2 separate regions of the Homo sapiens genome follow, and region 2 is linked to region 1. Evidence: promoter capture Hi-C in 16 types of primary human blood cells and fetal thymus (Javierre and others, 2016). All regions are on one chromosome and are shown on one strand. The core of a region is centred on a gene start or on the middle of the fragment in contact, and the rest is flanking DNA. Distances in the headings are between cores, read along the strand shown.

Evidence for each region. The method cuts DNA at HindIII sites, captures the fragments that hold promoters and counts their contacts. A CHiCAGO score of 5 or more calls a contact.
Region 2: a contact is called between a fragment that was not itself captured here and the fragment with the promoter of DNAH1 in region 1, in 1 of 17 cell types (naive CD4 T cells). The highest score is 5.1, in naive CD4 T cells.

The regions. Positions count from the first base shown.
Region 1 is chr3:52,314,610-52,318,181 of GRCh38, forward strand. DNAH1 (dynein axonemal heavy chain 1) reads left to right here and starts at 1,710. Exons shown (of 78, transcript NM_015512.5): 1 at 1,710-1,936. RefSeq lists an enhancer at 2,224-3,162 and a silencer at 3,101-3,330. The HindIII fragment of the contact is 17,475 bases long and covers 1-3,572 here.
Region 2 is chr3:52,217,178-52,220,631 of GRCh38, forward strand. No RefSeq gene overlaps it. Among named protein-coding and RNA genes, the nearest start is that of TLR9, 6.7 kb to the right of the region's middle. The HindIII fragment of the contact is 7,973 bases long and covers 1-3,454 here.

The DNA of each region.
Region 1 (3,572 bases), core at 460-2,959:
CCCTGACCCCATCCATCAAGTCCACCCTCCAGTTGGGAGAAACAGCAGTGACCATCACATGGTAGGGAGTGAGTCATCTACCAAGTGGTACTGACCATGGTCCTCTGGGGCCCTGAGGAGAGTGTGTGTTCTGTTGGCCAAGGCACTCAGGGAGTGTGTCCTGAGAAGTAGCCCAAGATGGCATGGAAGATCATAGAAAAACAAAGAGGGAAGAGGCTCCGGCAGGGAGGCTGCACAGGAGTAAAGGTGGGCAGGGGATTAGGTGGGGGCTGTGATGGATGAAGATTGTCTGTTCATGGGCCAGTGGTCTTCAGTCCACCAGCCCCGGAGAAACTCTGTTCTACTCCTTGCTTGAGCTCTGGGCTTTCAAGGTCTTGTCTGTCAAGGTGATCATGTGGATCAAAGGAGAATTAAATTTTCTCCATTTTTATTCATCAAAGAAATGATTATGCTGGTCAGAACTGCTGAGGGCAGCTGAGCAATGGCAGGGAGGCTTATGTCGGGGAGGCCTGGGGAGGCAGTGAATCGTAGACCTCACCCATTCCCTTCTCTGACACCCCCCGCCCCCGATGCCTGCAACTCACTTTCTTGTGGCATAGCTCAGAGCTCCAGGCCTAGAAAATCAGAGGAAGATCCTGGGGGCCCAAGAGGGAGGCTGGGGACAGGTGGGGAGCGGGTAGCTCAGCCACTCAGTCTGGATGCCTGTCACCTTCCGTTCTGGCTGGCCAGCCACATGAAGGGCCCATTCTGCTGCCCATTCACAAGGGGCTTTCATCTCTGCAGCCAGTGAAGCATTGCTCCCATCTCAGCCAGCAAGGAGACACAGGGGAGGGGGTGTGCAGACTTGCCATGACCTCAGACTCCATGCTGGAAAGGCATGGCCCTGGGCCAGGGCATCCTAAGCAGCCCATCTGCCCCAATCCCCCAGCTTCCAGGCCACCAGAGTCCTCAGCAAGGGGGATCTGAGTAAGAGATGGGCAGTGACTCCCCAACTCTTGTAGAAACCTAGTCCTCCCATTTCAACAAGGGTAAGGCTGACCTCTCTTCCAGCTTATTCAGGGCAAAAGATGGCCCTCCCATCACAAGAGGGGCAGGAGTCCAGTGGGTCATGGCTCAGCCCCCTGCTCCTTTCCCAGGGAGCAAGGTAAGTATGGTGGCCTTCAGGACAGGGCAGGAAGACCAAAGCCTGAACCCTTGCGCAGCCATGGGAGAAGACAGCACATTAGAGGGTAGCCCCTGAGACCCAGGAGAACAGGGACTGACTCACGGTGTCCTTCCAGGGAGGAGGGAGGCAGTCATATCCACAGCCCGCCCTTGAAGAGGGGCGAAGTGGAGCTGGCAGGGCTGCTGGTAAAAGCAGCACCCCCGACCCCCACCCCTCAAGTCCATTCTCCAGTTGGGAGAAACAGCAGTGACCATCACATGGTAAGCAGTGAGTGGTTCTGTGAGCTGGGCCTCCTGAGAGTGGACCCTTTCAGCTGTGGCCTGTCCATCTGTCCAGCAGCCACAGCCCCTGTGATGTCACCAGCCCACTGTGTTGCTTGGCAACTTTCCAGGATTAGCATTCTGCCCCTCTCATCCCTGACATCCCACCATAGGCTGATGTTGCCATGGCAACCCGGATAGATGCTGCAGCTTTTTGGACAGCTGTACCTAGTGTGGGAAGTGCCAGGCAAAAGCAGGGAAGCAGGTGCCTCTCTACAGGCCAAGGGGGGTACCCAACCTATACGCAGACCCATTGAGCAGCCAGACTGCCCTAAACAGGGCTATGGAGTCCTTGTCCCTTCTAAGAGCTGTGGACACCTTGCCTCCAGTTCCCCTCACAGTCCTTTCTTCCTTCTGCAGTGATCACTGAGTACCTGTGTGAATGCCAACAAGAAAAATAAAACCACAGTTTGGATTCAGGAAAGGTTGCACCACCATCAGGTCTTGAAGGGTGAGTAGGAGTCCGCCAGATGCAGGAGTGGATGGAGACAGGTTCTAGACAGAGGAAGCAGAAGCCTGTGCAAGGGCTGAACCACTGTCTCCAGGCATAGATTACACCCTGCCTCTAGGTTCCTCATGGCCTGGCCTCTCCATCTTTCCCACTCAATACACTTTATGGTGGGGATAGGGTCCAGTTCAGTTCCAGACACTTAGTGCCCAGCAACAGGCCTGGCACCAAGCCAGCACGACTAAAATGCCAAGTAAAATTCAACATCAGGGCCTATGACCTCCCCTAGTACTAACCGTCTCAGCAAGTCTGTTTCCCCATCTGTGAAATGGGGCCAGTTTTGAGAAGGCTGTGGGCAGGGGTTCTCAGGTACAGATGGGGTGATGTTTTTCTTTTGGTTCTTTTGGTTTGTAAACCACTTCTTTCCCTTACAGAAAAAATTGGAAGACTAGTACATGGACATCTGTGACCTTCAGATTCCCTAATTGTTATATTGCAGCACTTTTGCTTTATCTCCTCTTTGTCTTTTTATCTAGCTATGCTTACCTATATGTATAATTTTTGCTGAACCATTTGAAAGGAAATTGTAGCGGACATTCTGACGTGTTTCTTCAAACACTTCAGGCCACGTCAACTAAGGACAGTCTGATACAACCACAGTAGCATTATCACATCTAAGAAAATTAACAATAATTCAATATTCAGAATAGGGCAGGAAGATCAAAACCTGAACCCATGCCAGGTGCTGAGAGCAGATGAGGGGCATCAGAGGGTGGGCGCCCGAGCCGAGGGGTGTCGGGCGCATCCGCTGCCCAGCGGAAGCGGCGGCCTGAGTGGAGTCACCGTGCAATGGGTGGGTGTGGCTTTGTGAGCCAAGCCCCAGGAGAACCAGAACCCACCTTTTCCTCAGTGCCCTGACCAGCTGTCCCGCAGCTGTGGCTTAAATGCCAACTTCCAGTTCGTAAATTTCTTCAATTATTCCTCCCCAAATTATTTACATATGTATATGTATTTAAATCAGGATTTAATCAAAGTTCTCACGCTGCATTTAGCTGTTTCGCTGCTTACTCTAAAAGGGCACAGGAGGGAAGATGGGTGGGTAATGGAGCCTAGAAGAGTGACGCTCCCTGGTCGGCCCTAATCCTGCCGATCGGGGCATATGCTGGAACATCCCAGTCCCACTGTCCTGGGCGGAAGTAACCGAGACCTGGAGTTGGTGGGTAGGTAAGGGTTCAGGCTGGGGAGGTTCGCGGACGGAAGCTCCCGCCCTGCGGTGCCGGATGGCCCCGCCCCTTAGCAACGGCCTAGCGTCCCTCCCTAGAGACGGGGCTGATGCATCCCCGCACTGCTCGGTGGAACCGGTACGTCGGTGAGGCGGAGGGGTTGCGGGGCCAGCGCGGGCAGCGGGACCTCGAAAAGGCGCGGAGGGCGAGTGGACGAGGGTGGGGAATGGGGTCTCCCAGGAGTCTGGTTGCTGAGCCTTGGCCAGGGGGAAAGAAGGGAGGTGCACTTTATTTTATTATTTTTGAGACGGAGTCTCGCTCTGTCGCCCAGGCTGGAGTGCAATGGCGCGATCTCGGCTCACTGCAACCTCCACCTCCCGGGTTCAAGCGATTCTCCAGCCTCAGCCTCCTGAATA
Region 2 (3,454 bases), core at 886-3,385, 97 kb before region 1:
GAAGCTGGCAGTGGGCCTGGGGCACACACCCTCAGAGCTCGGCTGAGTCACACTCCCATCAGATAAAACCATACACCTAGGCAGGCTACAGGGCTTGATGGAAACCACATCACCTCGGAATCATGATTCAGTTCCTTCCTGCTCAGGAAACGAGCCTCGCTTAGCATTCCTGGCTCTGCTGCCTCACAGGAGCTTTCAGGGCTTTCCATTGTCCCTGTCATTCCCACGCCCAGGACTCCATCACCTCCCTTCCTTCAAATGGGATTGTTCTCCTCCAGCTGGGGTAATGTTGCTACCTGAATGCTTAGGAAGATCCACTCTTCCTTCGTAAGACCCAGAGCCAGCAGAAGCAAGGCCCTCAGGTGCATGTGCCCCTCCCTGCTTCTTGGGGTTATGAGAACGAAGGACCGGGTGATCTGCAGGAAGTAGGCGGGATTCGTGAACTGCTTAAAAATGGAAGTTTGGGCCGGGCTCCATGGCTCACGCCTGTAATCCCAACACTCTGGGAGGCCAAAGCAGGTGGATCACTTGAGGTCAGGTGTCCGAGACCAGCCTGGCCAACATGATGAGACCCCATCTCTACTAAAAATACAATAAATTAGCCAGGCGTGATGGTGCGCACTTGTAATCCCAGCTACTTGGGAGGCTGAGGCAGGAGAATCGCTTGAACCCGGGAAGCGGAGGTTGCAGTGAACCAAGATCACACCACTACACTCCAGCCTGGGTAACAGAGCGAGAGTCCGTCTTACAAAAAAAAAAAAAAAGAAAGAAAAGAAAGGAAGTTTGGCTTTTATAAGCAACTCTAGTGTGAAACTACGATGTCATGAAAGTTCTCTAAGGATATTTAGAAGCTGACGGCATTAAATAAGGTGTCCTAAAGGGAAAAGGGCAAACTGTATTTGAAATCTTAGTGAACAGACATTCCTCTCCTTGAAGTTTTCCTCTATCAGGTTGCCTGAGTCTCATGCCTGCTCCTCTACTTCCTTGTGCTGGGAAGCACTCTCTGCTCCCCAACACGAGGGGATAACACCAGGTCCATGGACTTTCCCAGGAGCCCTGGTCCTGCTCCCAGAGACAGCTACTGTCCCAGCTGCATGTGCCTCTGATGCAACCACATCTGAACCCTGTCAGTGCCCTGGGAGGCACTGGGTGGAGAGAGAAACACTGAAGCCACATCAGTTGAGGGTCCTGCGTGTAAATCCCATCACCTAATAATAACTGAGGCCCTGCTCAGTGTTTCAGACCCTTACCCATAGTGTACGAATCCCTCCAACGTCCTGCAGAGTGGCGCTGCTCATTCCCATTTATAGAGCGAGCAAGCTGAGGCTCCAGTAGGGGAGGTCACCTGCCTGAGACAATCCAAATGGCAGAACTGGCAGGCAAGCCCAGGCAATCTGGCCTGAGTCCTGTCTCTTTCCTGGCCGTGCTGATGGGCAAGGATGGCCGCCGTGTGGAGGAGAGAACCTGGAGCCATCTCTGAGTACCCTTCCTGACTACAATGCAGAGGGCGCCGCCTCCCACCCAGCCCCACCCTGGCCCAGCTCCAACCACTTCCTGCAGGACCTGAGATAGTGGTGCGCGGCTTCTCTGATCACGTAGACAGCACAGAGCCAAGTGCCACAGACCCCCAGACTCACCTGAGCCGAGCCCAACAGCCCCCTACCATGGCCCGTGTGCTTCCTCTCCAAATGCTCTCCTGAATCTCCAGCCCCAAAAGCATCAGGGCTGTGAGCGTGGGTGGGGGGTGGGGAGATGGAAGGTCCACCAGGAACTGCTGGAGGGTGGGCCTGGCAATCCCAAGACAGGCAGGTTTGCCTTGCCTCCCACATGCAAAATATGGTTCCCTGAATGGGATTCTGTTTCCAGCTTCCTGTCCCTGCCCCTGATTGTGGCCAGAATAGTCTCAGAGCCACTCAACAGTGGACTTCCCTAGACTCCAGCCAGGGGGAAAAGACTATTGTTTTCTTTTCTCTGCAGGCAGCCAAGGAAGGATGACAGGTTGGGTCAGAGCCCACGTGGGGCACAGGGCTTCCGATTGGTAGGTCAGAGACCCTCCTTCTTTCAGATGAGCAGATAACAGGGATCTACAGCCCACCACAGGAGCCCCTGTACCCAAGTCAGAAAGAGGACGGCAGCATAGACTTCCCCCACAGCCATGCCCTGGGGAGTAGGGCAAAAGCAACCCTCCAAGGGCTGCCATGATGAGCCCACCAAGTTAGCTGTCTGCTGCCAGCTCTAGCTCTCCCCTCCAGAGGCCCTGAGTGGACAAGCAGATCTCAAACTGGCCTGGACCGGCCAAACCGGGCCCCAGCTCCAACCTGTCAGCCTGCATATTTCTCCCCTGCTCCTCAAAGGGCAGTTTTGGCTGTGGTAATGGTGTAGGCTGCCAGCCCAAGAGAGGGCCCCTCAGGGGCTCCAGGCCTGACGCTCCTCATGGCTCCACACACAGTGTGGAGGAGATCCTGCTGAGGACAGACCCTGACCTCTCCAAACACTGGTCATTGGGGCTCCCAGCTCTATCCTGAAATGTACACTATCACATATAGAAGCCGGGTGCAGTGGCTCACACCTGTAATCCCAGCACTTTGGGAGGCCGAGGCAGGAGGATTGCTTGAGCCCAGGAGCTTAAGACCAGCCTGGGCAACGTGGTGAAACCTGGTCTCTACTAAAAATATAAAATTTAGCTGGGTGTGGCCTGTAGTCTCAGCTACATGGGAGGGTGAGATGGAGCACCTGGTCCCAGAAGGTTGAGGCTGCAGTGAGCTGTGATCCCACCATTGCATTGCACTCCAGCCTGGGTGACAGAGCAAGACTGTGGCAAAAAAAAAAAAAAAAAAAAAGGTCAGGCTTGGTGGCTCACGCCTATAATCCCAGCATTTTGTGGGGCTGAGGCGGGAGGATCACTTGCATCCAAGAGTCTGAGACCAGCCTAGGCAACATAGTGAGATCCTGTTTCTACAAAAAAATAAAAAATTCGCTGAGTATGGTGGTGCACCCCTGTGGTCCTAACTACTCAGGAGGCTGAGGTGGGAGGATCGCTTGAGCCCAGGAGGTCAAGGCTGCAGTGTTCATGCCACTGCACTCCAGCCTGGGTGACAGAGTGAGACCTTGTCTCAGAAAGAAAGAAGAGAGAGAGAGAGAGAGAGAGAGAGAGAAAGGAAGGAAGGAGGGAGGGAGGGAGGAAGGAGGGAGGGACGGAGGGAGGGAGGGAGAGAGGGAAGGAGGGAGGGAGGGAGGGAGGTGGCTTGCCTAGGTGTCCCTTTAATATCAGAATGGAGAGACCCAGCAAGCACCTGTAGGTGGAAAGAGAAAGGAGTGGATTCTCCTGTCTGTGGCTCCCAGCTCCCTGCTGCAGGGATGCACCCACAGGCCTTCCCCTCCCGACCCTGAACCAGCCTTCTCCGCTTGGCACAGGCATGGCCACCAGAGGGCGCAATCACCCCTCCACCTTTGC